2 separate regions of the Homo sapiens genome follow, and region 2 is linked to region 1. The links are contacts of gene promoters, found by promoter capture Hi-C in human tissues and cell types (Jung and others, 2019). All regions are on one chromosome and are shown on one strand. The core of a region is centred on a gene start or on the middle of the fragment in contact, and the rest is flanking DNA. Distances in the headings are between cores, read along the strand shown. Region 1 holds the start of TMEM74 (transmembrane protein 74). Region 2 has its middle 130 kb from the start of EMC2.

Region 1 (7,783 bases), core at 3,479-5,978:
GTAATAGAACTGCACATTGTGTATTTTTTAGTGGCTAGCTTCTTTTCTTGAGTTTTATTGTTGTGTTTTTAATATTCATATTTATTAATTTTATCCTGAAGGTACACATGGTGTTGGATCAGAAACAGATGATTTACTTAAGAGCAAATAATGACCATGCGGTCCTCTGGATCCCAATTCTTACCCTTGGCACAACACAGTGAAAGCCAGGTCAGATGTCCTAGGCGTACAAACTTTGAAGTCTGTATCACAGATGAGAAACAAGAGAAAAAAATAATTTAGTGTGTTTACATACAGAAGCAAGAGAAAACTATCTTTTCCACCCCTCCCCAAAAGATAGAAAAAAAAAATCTTTGCTCCTTGGATGCAATAATTTTGGGTTCTCTAAATGTTTCAAATATAAATACATTTCTTCAAAGCCAAATGCAGTGAGTAGGTCTAAATTACCTAGTCTATTACTACGGGAAACAAATGTTCCCAATAATTTTTTTTTTCTCTGACTCATTAAGGGTTTAAAATACATTGAATTTTGAATAACAAATTGTGATATCTGACTTTCATTAATGTCTAAATTCACTTAAGACAAAACTCAGGTAGAACAGTTAGGGGATACTGCCCCTTTTGGGAAAGGCACTTGCTCTTAACTTCGGTAATCTTCCCCATCCCTATTGTCTGTATTCAGCCACTTTATTTAAGTAACATGCCTACTTGGCCACTGTAAGCATTCTTATTAAATGGAAACCTTTCTAATTTAATGCTTTTTTTTGTTCCTAGAATCTTGTTCATTAACAAGATCTTCATTCTCTAAATTATGGTCACCTTCATTCTTAGCACCAGTATGGGGTATAGGACCATATTCCTCATGCTATCCCTATTCAATGACTGATCCTCCCTCCAGCCTATTCCAAAAATGTCTTTCTTACTTCTCTAGGACCCAGCCTCTCATAATAATAACTCCACTAATAATCCCTTAATAGTCCACTAATCAGCCCTTATTATTATTACTGAAGAAAAAGAAACTGGAACACATCCTCAGTAATTATTACAAGAGGCTGGTTGTTAAAAGTCCCAGCACTACCCTTGATTTACATGGTAAATTTACTTCTCAGAATTTTTCTTATTTTTCAACTAGTTAACTTAGTGTAGTAACGATTGCTCCTCTCACATGAAACGGAGTATAAGTAAACAGGAAAATGTGAGACATTAAAATTAGAGTAAGACCAAAATCATTATGTAGATTTCTAGATAACATTTTACAACTGTGAATTGTTTTATCAGCATATATTGAGGAACTACTGTTGCCTATGTGTCGCACTATTTCATGCCCACATATAGCTTCAAAGAAATAGAAAGAATATGTTGGTTCTCAAGGAGCTTAAATTTTATCTGGAGAGATCACATAGAAAGCACTATAAAATATACATGAAATACTTTTCTATATCTAAAATAACAGCATAAAAGAAAGCATATTATGCTACTAGAAAGCCAGTTAGAAAGGTAACGATAAGTTGAGGACGTTGAACAAGAAAGGCTTTTGAAAAAGGTTCTTGGGTCAATTTTCAGGAAAGTTTTAGACATAGACTTATGAGAGAGGGGGAAAGTATTCCAGCAAGTGGCAATTTTTGCAGAGCTTTTATTTTCAAGTGCTCAATTGGTTCATCTCTATTTTTTGTCAGCAGACTTTTAAAGGGGATTTTGTGGTGTTGGTTGGAATTGATATATTTTTAATGCTCAAGAATATGTAGACAGTCAAGTATTATTATAGGTAATCATCTCGAGTCTTCAGTTCAGTCTTGACATCTTCCCTCTCAACAGAAATACTGCACTTTCTGCAGGAGGTAAGGTGTTCAGCATGTAGATGCTGACCTTAAGGAGTTTATGATTGATTACCTTAGAGATTTAGGCACCTAAGTGAGAAGTTAAACCACATGCAGTGGCTACCTAGCCATTCCAGAAATGTCGTAAAGCAGTGGATGATAAATATCAAAAACACCAGTACTGACAAGTCCCAGCAAAGTTCACAGGAGGTGTAATCCTTGGAAGAAAAAGGCTTCAGGGAAAAAAAAAAAGTAACTTAAAATCAGTTCAGCCTGGGAATCACAGAGGTCCTCTAATCCAACTAGATGAATCCCTTCTATGAAATCACTAATAAATGGCTCTCCTTTTTTTTTTTAATCCTCACCAGTACCAGAGAATTTGCTTTCATGAGACATCAATTTAAAAGTTTTAGAAATAATGTCCTTCCTTATACAAAGTCTCAAATCAGCCTCCTTCTTAAATTTAATAGTGCTATCCAGAGCTTCTCAGATCAGTGCTTTGGCATCCTCCAGCACTCCAGTGTGTCACAGGTGTGCTGACTTATTTATTTCCTTAGCCCTCCAAGCTGTCCTGCAGAGACTGAAGTACCCACAGCCCCAGAACTATGGCCATGAGAAACCTCCTGTGTTTATCACATTGCCATAAATAGTATCACCTCTTATGTGTACTCTGCTGTAAAAAAGATTGTGAAGCATTGCTCAGTATAATGTGTTGGCAAAGAGATCAAGTCTCTGGAATCACACAGACCCAAGTTAGAACCTTAGCTCTGCCCGATATTAGTTTTCAGGCCTTGGAAAAGAAACTACATCTTTTCAAGCCTCAATTTCTACATTGCAAAATGGGTGCAATAATACTGCCTCCCTTGTGAAGTTGGTGTAAAAATTAAAGATGATAACATAATAGCACTAACAAAAAAGTATTATTGTTATTTGTTCTGCTTTTACCCTTTTAAATATACTATAGAATTCTTCTTCTATTTTTAGAAACTTCAGAATATTTGAAGCTAGTTTATTGTTTCCTCTCAGTATTCTCCTATGGCTAAATAGCCTAAGTTCCTAAGTTTTTCCTCGTCAACATAAATTCAAGTTCCTTCTACATCTTAGTTTCTCTCTTTATTTCTTTTTGCATATGTAGTACTAAGAACTGGATGCATCCCTGTAGATTTGGCTTGACAAACTAGTCCTTGAAGTGTGGATGGAATAGGGCAGTGGAGGAAAGATATTCATGCTGGAGAACCGTGTAGTAAGCAAAGGAGAAGTCATAATACATCTGTCATGTTTATCAACAAATGGGCCTCACTGGCTACAAATATAATCATATGGGGGAAAAAGAATTTTAAAGAGGGAGCATTGTGAACTCCTGTAATCATGTGACTATAGATTCTATCCAATGTAATGAAATACCAACATAATTGTCATTAAAGGAGATAGATCTCTCTTTTGAAAGCAAGCAACCACAGTATTTATGTGAGCTACAAGCACAATGTCATAATACATACTATAATCCCTAATCCCTTTTTTCTTTTTTTCTTTTTTTTTTTTTTGAGACGGAGTCTTGCTTTGTCGCCAGGCTGGAGTGGTGCAGTGGCACGATCTCTGCTCACTGCAACCTCCGCCTCCGGCTTCAAGCGATTCCCCTGCCTCAGCCTCCTGAGTAGCTGGGAGTACAGGCACGCGCCACCACGCCCGGCTAATTTTTTCTATTTTAGTAGAGACGGGGTTTCACCATGTTGGCCAGGATGGTCTCGATTTTCTGACCTCGTGATCTGCCCGCCTCGGCCTCCCAAATTGCTGGCATTACTGGCGTGAGCCATCGTGCCCAGCCCATCCATACTATAATCCTTTTTTGCTCCCCTAGAATTGTCCCAACAGGATGCTGGAAAACTGGAGATTATCTGCAAGCTACACATACCCTGGGCTTTCAGTGGCTGTTGGCTATTGCAGTCCACTCTGGTTGAAAGAGGCTGGTGACACAGTTACCTTGTCCTATCCTAAGAGTCACAACTCAGAAGATTCAACCTTCAGATTTCCTTTATTCCTGAGCCCTTTTATTCTGGCCTTCTGGTCTTTCTTCCATTCATTCCATATAGCATAACGCTTAGAATCTGTTGGTGTTCATCCCCCCCCCCCCACCTCTGCTAAGTATTAGTTGTGTGACATTGGGCAAATTATTCTACTTTGTAACTCAGTTTTGCCTTCTGTTAAAATGAGGATTTTTTTTTACAGTACTTTAACAATAAATTGTGACCATTAAATGAGATAATGTATCTATAGTGCTTAGAAGAGAGCCTGGCAATAATAAGCGCTATTTATGTTAACTGTTATTTTGAGTCATTATTATTCATACATTCAACGAATACCACTGTGCTAAATACAGGGGATGTGTTGGTACATCGGACAATCTCTTACCCCTTATGGTCATATTTCTTCTGATTTTGTGAGACACGCAATGACTTTCGAATCTGACTCCTGGATGCAATTTCAGAAGCTGCTGTTGGTAACTGTGGATGAGGCACTTACCCTCTCTGAGCCTGTTTCCACATCTGTAAAATGAGGATTAATAAAATCTACTTGGAAGATTTGTTTTGACTATTAAAAAGACAAAATATGCAAATTATCTGGCACATTTGAAGTCGAATATACTTTCCTTTTCACAGTCTTGTGGCCACACCTGAGGCTAGGGAACTCCACTCTAGGCTTAGAAAACAGTGCTGTCTTCTTAAGTGCTGGGGAGGAGTAAGAGGGTATGGCGGGAACTCATCTGCAGGAAGGGTAAAACCCAGAAGGCGTGGGAGGAGACAGAGACAGGAGGGATGCAGGGACCGCCCCTGGCCTACAACTCCCGGGATGCTCCGGGAGCGCCCCGCCCCGCCCCACCCCGCCCGCCGTGGCGGGCGCTGCCCACCCGGCGGAGCCGAGCGGCGTGCAGAGGCTACAAGTGCCGTAGCTGGTGATTGGGGGACTTTCTCCGGGAACCGTGCCGGGAGAGCGCGCGGTGCTGGAGCCGCACCGGGTGGCCGAAGCAGAAGGTGAGTGGCGGGGAGTGGGATGGGGTGGAGGCTTTGAATGCAAGGGTGAGAGCCCTGGAGCCTAGCAGAGCTGGAGCGCATATCCCCGCTCTCTCTCCTTCGTCTCCGAGTACTAGGCGGACACATCCGTACCTCGAATGCCTCAGTGGGCGCAGAGTTCACCAGAAATGGATAGCCGGATTCCTCGGCGCCTGCTGGGGGCACCGCTGCCAGGTGCTTGGGGCTCGCTCTCCCGGCTTTGCTCGCACAGGGCGCATCCAGAGGTCGCCTCCCCGAGATCAGCCTTGCCTGTGTCAGTTTAAAGCAAATATTAATGCTTTTAATTGATGACAGATGGACGAGGGAAAGTGCGTGTCCCCTCGCTTTAAGGTGCAATGTCGTTAACTGGGCTTTTAAGCAGATCAGAGGAAAAAGAGGGAGAGGACGGAAGAAAAGAGTCTTTAGCTGGTCCCCTGGGATTATCCATTCTCCACTGAGAATGGAAACCCCGGATTAGGGAGCTGCAAAGGAAATCGACTGTGCTGCTAGCATACCTCCGGTAGAACAAGCGAACAAGCGGGAGTAGCTTTTCTTTAAAGAGAGGTAGAGGCGGCCGTAGGGAATTAAGTGGGGATTTCTCTCTTCTTTTGTTATAAACTGAAAGTCTCAAAGAACCCTGCTGATTTTATCCAAGGTAGGCTAGTGTGATGAGTTAATGGTACCAAAGGTTAATCAGAGCCCCTAATGCCTGAGAAAACTGGAAGAAGAGTTATCGGTAATTGATGAAGCCTGTTACCATCACTTCATTCATTGAGGGATCCTTTAGTGGGGGTTTGTTCTAGTTTAGTAGTGATTCTTTTGCCCTGTTGTTTTTTGCTGTTTTCACTGTAGAGAAACTCCGATAACAGGAGAAAAACGTTTTCTGTTTTGCTTTTTTTGTTTTGTTTTAAACAAACTCTTAGGTGTAGCAGAAAACATGTCAATTCCCTCTCCCATATTTTGAGTTGCCAGGTTGACCTTAGGTGACCCTTGCCTGTGTTTCTGTTACCAGCTTTGGAGCTGTGGATTTTGAATTATAAGAAGCCTCAAGCCGTTGGGTTAAATCAATTATCACCCTGGATTTGGAAGCAAAATAAAAGGAGCCTTTGGTTAAAATCTCTAATGATAGTGGAAAGTGAATTTTTATTCCTTAGAAACATGGCAGAGGCAGAGAAAAGCCGATGGTTTTCTGCTCAAACCAAAGTTCTCTCCCAGAAATGCCCCTTGCTGCAGTCGGGGGTGAGGAGTGACATGTTTATAAAATTACAGAGGTAACCTTGGAAATAGCTTCTCACCTATTTGTCTCCACAGAACTCTTACTCTGTGGGTTTATAGTTTGTCTTTTATTATCAGTTCACTTCTAGATTGGGTTTGTAAAACTATCCAGATGGTCAATTTCTTGTGCATTGTGTGATAGCAAAGCATGCAGAGAGGGAGGAACACAGACCCAGGGAACGGGAGTAGCAGATCCTGCAGCTGGAGCAGGCAGGTGTGTGTGTGGAGGAGTGGGTTGGCCCATTGTATTTTGCAGGGATTGCCGTAAGGTCTGTTGCCTGTATGCTTTGGGGTCCAGAACATGCTTCCCCCATGGAGCAGTGAGGGAATAGGGCTAAGTGGAAGCACAGTGAATAAGCAGCATATGGTCTTGTAAATACAGGGCTGTGTCACTAGGGTCATTGGATGTATGAGGTGTAAGCTTAGCAGAGGTGGCTGATTAAGCTGGCCTTTTTCATCTACTTCAGAGCTATGGAATCAAAATGCTGAGTTCCTGCCCAGCTGATAGGGGTGTATAGTCATTCACTGATGGTGATGCTCCAAAGCTAATCTGTATTAGAATTTGCTCTGAACTAGGGAGAGTGTAAACACTTACAATCTTACTGAATTAACAAGTCTATGCTTCCCCAAGTCCTCCAGAAAATCGGCAGCTCTGCTAAAAAGGGCTCTTGCCTTTCTCATTTGTCTTTTTACAGGAAACTTGCCTTCTCGTTTGAGGGATCCTTTTGCAGGAATGCGCGAGTCCTTGAATAAATTTGGCTTGGTGACGGCAGTATTCTTTCTCAGTAGACACTGCCACTTCCTCCACGCACCTTTCTACCCTGACTTAAGTTTCTCAGTGTTAATCACTATGACAAGTGAGAGCATTTGTCCCTTCCACACTTTCCTGCCACTAGGTATCCCCTCCCTTCTTTTGCCTGTTTGAGGTGGAAAAGGGGCTAAACAGGTGCAGCTGTGAAGGAAATGGGGACCCCAGGAGCAACACTCCTGGAAGTACAACCTTAGCTTCTGTTGGGTTCTTATCTAACTCTGTTGCTATTGGCAGACTTTCCGGAAGCTGCTGGGGGATGTCTGACTAGCTCTCATGGAGCTCCACTACCTTGCTAAGAAGAGCAACCAGGCAGACCTCTGTGATGCCAGGGACTGGAGTTCAAGAGGGCTGCCTGGTGACCAGGCAGATACAGCAGCCACAAGAGCTGCTCTCTGCTGTCAGAAACAGTGTGCATCCACCCCAAGAGCAACCGAGATGGAAGGGTCTAAACTTAGTTCTTCTCCAGCATCCCCCTCCTCCTCTCTGCAAAACAGTACTCTTCAGCCAGATGCCTTTCCACCAGGACTTCTCCACTCAGGGAACAACCAAATAACAGCGGAACGGAAAGTCTGTAACTGCTGCAGCCAGGAATTAGAAACTTCTTTTACCTATGTGGACAAAAACATCAACTTGGAGCAGCGGAACCGGAGCTCGCCATCAGCAAAAGGGCATAATCACCCTGGGGAGCTTGGCTGGGAAAATCCAAATGAGTGGTCCCAAGAGGCTGCCATATCTTTGATATCTGAAGAGGAGGATGATACAAGTTCAGAAGCCACGTCTTCAGGGAAGTCTATAGACTATGGTTTCATCAGCGCCATCTTGTTCTTGGTCAC
Region 2 (7,783 bases), core at 1,790-4,289, 210 kb after region 1:
AATAAATAAATTACTTTTTTCACATCAACATCAAATTTATTTCTACTATATTATATGATGCCAACAAATAAGATATAAATTATTACTAAAAATAATAATAATATTAACAAACTTGAGAGATATGTAGTGAAAATACTCCTAGTAGTGTTCGTATGGAGCTACATAACCTTGAACAGTTAATTTCTCTGGACTTTATTCATCTATAAGACAGTGAAGCAAATTAACCCTTAAGATCCCTTATAGCTCCAGAATCTGAGGATTCTAAGTTTAGGGTAAACCAAGGAAATGAAAGAAGAGAATGGAAGGGTCAATATCTCAGAATGCTTTTAATAATGGAATGGTGGCCTCAAAGGGTAAAATGGGACAGAGGTAAAAGTGAAAACAGGGTGTGGGGAAGTAGAGAAAGTGGTCAGTCAACTCTGAAAAGCAGGGCAGAAATGAGAGAGTTCAAGAAGAGACAGTTCATGAAGTGTTTGTCTTAGGCAATCATTGTGCACTTCAGGATGAAAGATACAAGACCAGGGATGCATTTATCATCTCTTAAGAAGTTGTTGAGGAAGAAGTTCTGAGTTAATAACTGCAGGAAGGAGGAGAACTACCCAGGAACAAAGTTTTTGTTGGGACCCTGGTATTGCCACCCATCCCTGAGGAGCTTCGGTTTCATGGCTGACTCCAGGCTGCTGACAGTGTCTTTTCATTCTTGGCTATGATGGTAGAGAATGAGCTGATGAAGTGATTCAGATACATCCTTACACTTGAAAAATCCAAAGAAAATTCTTAGTGGCCCCTCCTAGAAAATCTCAGGGGATGGTTCATCTACTGCAGGCCTTTCCCCTCCTTCTTGCCTCTGCTCACCACCACAAATAAAAGAAAGTTTTTCTGAATACTTATTTTGTTTCACAAGGCCCCAATCTCAAACTAATCTGCAGTTAAAATGTAGACATTGGAGGGGATTTATCTTAGAGAAAGTTCAACTTTCTCAATAAGTACATACTTGCACAATATTCAAAATGACTTTAAGTAAATATTTGGTTTCATTTGCTCCATTCTTTTTTTTTCTTCCACTCAGGAAAGAATGCACCAAACACATTCACATCAATTTTCTTTCTTTTTTATTTTTTTAAGCAAATCACAAAGACCCAGCTTACCAGCTTTCCTTTTTTGTTTTGTTTTGTTTTGTTTGAGACAGAGTCCTACTCTCTCCCCCAGGCTGTACGGCAGTGGCGTGATCTCGGCTCACTGCAACATCCACCTCCCAGGTTCAAGCAATTATCCAGCCTCAGCCTCCTGAGTAGCTAGAACTACAGGCACACACCACCATGCCCAGCTAATTTTTTAAATTTTTAGTAGAGACGGGGTTTCACCATATTGGCCAGGCTGGTCTTGAACTCCTGACCTCAGGTGATCCGCCCGCTTCGGCCTCCCAGAGTGCTGGGATTACAGGCGTGAGCCACCGTGCCTGGCCACAGCTATACTTTTTTAAACCTAAGCTTAACATTACATATTTAAACAATTGTCAAAACGTATCAAGTTGCCAGCATTCATGCACAACTGGAAAACATTCTTAATTTATATTAAACCAAAAATGTATTACCATTATTTAATTAATATCTTTCACTACTAAATACTGAAAAAAAAATTGAAGTTATTTCTGTACAACAGGGGTCCCCAACTCTCGGGCCACTGACCTGTAGCAGTCTGTGGCCTGCAGGAACTGGGTCACACAGCAGGAGGTGAGCAGTGGGCAAGCCAGCAAAGCATCATCTGTATTTACAGCCATTCCCCATTGCTGGCAATATCTCCTGAGTTCCATCTCCTGTCAGATCAGTGCAGTATTAGATTCTCATAGGAACGTGGACCCTACTGTGAACTGCACATGTGAGGGATCTAGGCATCATGCTTCTTATGAGAAGCTAATGCCTGATGATCTGTCACTGTCTCCCATCACTCCCAAATGGGACTTCAGGAACACAAGCTCAGGGCTCCCCCTGATTCTACATTAAGATGAGTCGTATAATTATTTCATTATATATTACAGTGTAACAATAATAATCATAGAAATAAACTACACAATAAATGTAATGTGCTTGAATCATCCCAAAACCATCCCCAACCCCCACTCCAACCGTGGAGAAATTGTCTTCCATGAAACCGGCCCCTGGTGCCAAAAAGGTTGAAGCCTGTTGCTGTAGAAGATTCATCCTGTCAATGTTAACTTCACAGCAGGACAATACTAGGAGGCTCACATTTCAGATACAACGGGAAAGCAAATCCATGCTGGTGTTAGTATGCAATCTCATCCTACTACAAAATGGTAAAGTCTCACCTTGGAGTACGTTTAATAAAAAGGCAAAGTGCACACAGAGATTTCAACAATTTTAAAGACAAAAAAAGGTCCCAACGATAAACTCAAAAGTCTATGACAAATAGGGGCTCTGTTGAGCTGTTTGTAAATACTTTAGATTAGGTACAATTAAACTGAAAGTAGTGTTTGTTTGAAATCTTTAAAAAAAAGTTCCTGTTGGCCTGGTGCGGTGGCTCACGCCTGTAATCCCAGCACTTTGGGAGGCCGAGTTGGGCAGATCACGAGGTCAGGCGATCAAGACCATCCTAGCTAACACGGCGAAACCCTGTCTCTGCTAAAAATACGAAAAAATTAGCTGGGCTTGGTGGCATGCACCTGTAGTCTCAGCTACTCGGGAGGCTGAGGCAGGAGAATCACTTGAACCCGGGAGGCAGAGGTTGCAGTGAGCCGAGATAACACCACTGCACTCCAGCCTGGGCAACAGAGCGAGACTTTGTCTCAAAAAAAAAAAAACAAAAAAAAAAAAAACAGTTCCTGTTAATCCTCAAATGGCACTTGTTATTATTTAACATTTCTGTTAAATGCATGCATTGAATTACTTGTTACCCAAGCCAGAAGCTGCTTCTTACCTTTTATCGTTTAGGACTTTAACTAGCTGTCTTTTTCAACATCTATTCCTTCTTGACAATCCTCGACAATCCTCTTTGTAGTAATTTTCCTGCCAACCATTTTAGTAGAAGTTGATAGAGATTTAAAGTTACCCATCCCAGTACCACCAAATGAGGTGGAAGAGAATGAAGTGAGACCCCCATGACCTGAATGAAGTAAATCCAAAGAAGTCAAAAACTTCCACCAAAAACTTCCCTGAAGACATCACCTGGGTTACAGAATGTGAAGCCAAACTCACGGAACTGTCAAAATGACTTCCACCTCCTCTCCGCCAACTAATCTTTCTTTGCCATATTTTTCACAGATGTCCGCTTTTTAGCATCTGACAGCACTTCATAGGCCTTGGCTACTTGTTTGAATTTTCTCTCTGCTTCTTTATTCTCAGGATTTTTATCTGGGTGTTACTTCAGTGCCAGTTTTCGATATGCCTTTCTAATATCCTCAGTTGAGGCATGTCTCTGCAAGCCCAGAACTTCATAGTAATCCACCATGTTTTAACAGATTGTTGGAACAGGTCCCAGGACAGAGGCGACTGGCAGTGAGATACAGGGGAGGCGAAGTGGTGGCCCAGGTCTCCTCTAGGCTCCAGCACCGCTGTGCTGGTGGCAGCGGCCTGCTCCGCTCTTTAAAAACAAAATCCAACTGACAAAATAACATCACTAAAATTTCATTAAATAAAAAATCACTAACATCAAATATAATCAAATAAAAACATAACTATTCCTCTAGCATAGCTACCTACAAATGCAGTAGGGTTTCCTAATTAAAACCGAAAAGAAAATAAACTCACCAAATCCCACCGGAATTCATTGAATGCGGCTAAAAAGTTTTTAAATATAGAACAGTGAGCTTGCTTTGTGAATAAGTCTGTGCATTCTTTTACTTGTTTATTTAAATTATAACTGCTGTGTTTAAATATTACAAAGAAAATAAATATATCCTTTATTGAAAGAAGTGGAAACAATAATTTTAAATGACTTAATTAGCTCTACCAATCCATTCAGCTACTGCTTTTTAGTCTGTACTAGCAGGAAACCATGACTTCCTGAATTTGGAAATGATGCATAGCCCCCAATAAACTTACACAATAATGTGGCCCATTTTTTCTTCCAAACATAACAGCAACTGATCTTTATTCATTTTGTCTAAAGTAAAAATTTGCATATCATTTCAATTTTTTAAGCGATTTCTAGTAATATTTGAAGAGTATTCCAGGTATATCTTAGCAGGCAGGTGAGGAAGGCAGACCTACTGGTTTTATTTTCATGAGAATTTCAGGGGACTGATGGTAAGAGAAACATGTCTGGGCCTCTTGGGATTGAGGAGTGGCCCAGAAATCTGGGGATAATGACTCCTGCTTAGCTTCACAGGCATTATACTGTTTGAAGAGAAACTCATTCGAAGGGAAGAAGAGTCAAGACATTACATTGGGCTGGGCACGGTAGCTCACACCCATAATCCCAGTACTTTGGGAGGTCAAGGCAGGAGGATCACTTGAGGTCAGGAGTTCGAGACTAGCCTGGCCAACATGGCAAAAATCCATCTCTACTAAAAAAAAAAAAAAAAAAAATCAGCCGGGCGTAGTGGCGCACTCCTGTCTCAGCTACTCATGAGGCTGAGGCAGGAGAATTGCTTGAACTCGGGAGGCAGTACAGCCTGAGCAACAAAGCGAGACTCAAAAAAAAAAAAAAAAAAGGACATTACCTTGGTCCATTAGCTAAGTTCAGTGTTTATTTATAAAGGTAAATGGTTTTTAGTACAGTATAATGTGGTATCATTAAAATTGTAAGTCCAAGCTGCACAAAGAATGTGTGCCAAGGAAGGAGGAGAAGGTACAGCAATTACAATATTTATCAAATGGAAAAGCACATTACTAGAAGTACCGTGGACCACTTAGAACACACTGTGACTATAGCAAAGAAGTTATATTCTGAGGAAAAAATGAGTAATTTCTGCCCTACTGCTTCCCTTCACCCAAACGTTACCACCAATAGTGAGCCATGGTTTCTAACATTTCACAAGTGAGTTGACTCATTCTTCAAGTAACATGTTATACAAATAAAAGACCAATGAAGGGAAGCTCCTGCATTGGTTTTTTAGATAGCTGGTGAAACGTTAGTTCTGGATGTGTGAAAAGGGTGTTTCTGGAAGAGATTAACATTTGAATCAGTAGACGAAGTAAAGAAGATCTGCTCTCCATAATGTGGGCAGGCATCATCCCATCCTTGGAAGACCTAGATAGAACAAAAAGATGGAGGAAGGGTGAATTCTCTCTCTCTCTTCTTAAGCTGGAGCATTCATCCCCCTTCCTTAGACGTTGGAACTCCTGGTTCGCAAGACTTCAGATTCCAGGACTTACACCACTCCCCAACACTGAGTTCTTAGGCCTTTGGACTCAGACTGAATTATACCACCAGTTTTCCTGGTTGCCCAGCTTGCAGACAGCGTATCATTAGACTTTTGGGCCTCTATGATTGCATGAGCCAATTCCCATAATAAAAATATATGTGTATTTTGGGATATATAGGATACACACACACACACACACATATCCTGTTGGTTCTGTTTCTCTGGGGAACCCTGACTAATACAGCCTATCACAACAGTGTAGTTATAAATGTATGGAGTACAAGTGTGATTTTGTTACATGCATAGATAGTGCACCAGTAAAATAAGATTTAGAGTACCCATCACCCAAATAACATACATTGTACCTATTTGGTAATTTTTTATCATCCGTTTCACTCTTTCACCTTTCTGAGTGTCCATTTTCCATCATTCCACACTCTATGTTCATGTATCACAACAGTTTAAAGCTAAATTGGGAGCAGTAAGACTGGTCAAGATTGATTGGATTTGGGATATATTTTACAGATAGAATTGACAGAATTTGATGATAGATTGGGAATTCATAGAATGCAGGAAGTACTATCAGATGAGTAGATTTCTATGAGGAGACTAGAGGACAAGAATTTAGGAGTTAGCTAATTGCACATCCTATGTTTTAGAAGTTCAAATCAATATGTATATAGAGTGCATATATATATATATATGCACATTATATATAGTTTTTTACATTTACTCATATTAAATTACCATATTTGTATATCAAAAAATGGTTGTCAAAAATTTTATATGCTTAAACCAAATAAAAATAAATTCAAGAGTAATAAGCATATAAATGTTATTTAAAACCATAGCACTTAATCAGATTGTGTATCATGCTGGAGTAAATGGAGAAGAAGAGACACAAAAACTGAGCCCTGGGACACTTCAACCTTTACAGATCAGGAAGATAAAAAGGAAGCAGAAAAAGGGAACTAAGAAGAAGTAATGTCTGAGAAAAATTAGAAAATTTTGTCTTAGAAGACAATTGGAGGAAGTATTCCAAGGAGGAGGAATGAATCACATTTGATGAAAGCTTTTAATAGGTTAAGTAACCTGAAGACTCAGAAATGACCATACAAATGAAACCAATTAGCTTTACAAAAGGCAGTTCATTCATAATGTTGGAAAAAAAAGAAACATGTGTGCTCTAAAAAATAAATTCATTACTAACAATGTCAATTGGTAATTGGCATATGATTTCTCAAAGTTTAGGCTTCCTTTTTTTTTACAGTTTAGATATAGTATATTTCCCCACCACCCTAATAGGTTTAAATAAGTATCTTTGCAAGTTAAGTCTATTGCTTAAATAATGCAGAAATATAAAATAAAATTTTTTTTATTTTTATTTTTTGAGACAGAGTCTCTCTCTATCACCCAGGCTAGAGTACAGAGGCTCGACCTCAGCTCACTGCAAGCTCTACCTCCCAGGTTCACGCCATTCTCCTGCCTCATCCTCCCAAGTGGCTGGGACCACAGGCACCCACCACCATGCCTGGCTAATTTTTTGTATTTTTTTTAGTAGAGGCGGGGTTTCACCGTGTTAGCCAGGATGGTCTCGATCTCCTGACCTCATGATGTGCCCACCTCGGCCTCCCAAAGTGCTGGGATTACAGGCGTGAACCACCGCGCCCGGCCCAGAAACATAAAATCTTAAGTCAGCAGATGGATTAGACTTCAAGCACCCAGAAGCATGTTCTGGTGGGAAATATCTGTACCCAGGAAATTAATCTTTACCCAGTCTCAGAATAAATGCTCAAAAGAAAAGTATTGAAGCTTTTGTACCAGTCACTTGGAACCTGTTGTGAAGAGATATATTGGCAGAATTATGCACAAGTGGTCAGGTAAGCAGATTTTTTAAAAGAGAAAAAGAAGAAGGAAAATGCCAAAATTGATATGCCCAGCAAAATTTTCATTCTATGAAGTGATATGATGTATGGTTTCCTACTTTGTGTAACTGAATCTGTAAATATCTATATCTTTTATCATAACAAAAATGCCTTCACCCTCACACACATGCAAAGAAGAACATTACATCCTAGGACAAAGAATCAGAGATTAAAAAGAAAAAGATCATAAATATATATGCACCTAACAATATAGTCTCAAAATATAGAAAATAATTTTAAAATGATAGAAAAATTTGTAGCTGGAAATTTTAATCCAGTTCTCTCAGAAATTAATAGTTTAAAGCAACCAAAAATAAATAAATACATAAAAAATTCGAATAACATAATCAATTATTTTGAATTAATAGCTATATAGAGACATTTACACCCAACAACAAAAAAAGAGAGAAAGTATATTTAGCACATATGAAGCATTTGTAAAAACTAACTAGTACTAGAACAACTATGACACAAAAGAAGCCTCAACAAATACCAAGTAATTAATAGCATAAAGGTACTTTCTCTAACAATAATA

The links. The method cuts DNA at HindIII sites, captures the fragments that hold promoters and counts their contacts. A contact is called where the count stands out against the background at its distance.
Region 2: a fragment that was not itself captured here is called in contact with the fragment with the promoter of TMEM74 in region 1 in 2 of the 25 tissues and cell types used here (aorta and neural progenitor cells).

Annotation. Positions count from the first base shown.
Region 1 is chr8:108,784,539-108,792,321 of GRCh38, reverse strand. It overlaps TMEM74 (transmembrane protein 74), which reads left to right and starts at 4,728. Exons shown (of 2, transcript NM_153015.3): 1 at 4,728-4,846; 2 at 7,185-7,783. The coding sequence starts at 7,224. RefSeq lists silencers at 4,613-4,792, 5,208-5,502. The HindIII fragment of the contact is 13,104 bases long and covers 1-7,783 here.
Region 2 is chr8:108,568,327-108,576,109 of GRCh38, reverse strand. It overlaps the pseudogene LOC101060000. Among named protein-coding and RNA genes, the nearest start is that of EMC2, 130 kb to the right of the region's middle. The HindIII fragment of the contact is 7,453 bases long and covers 1-6,765 here.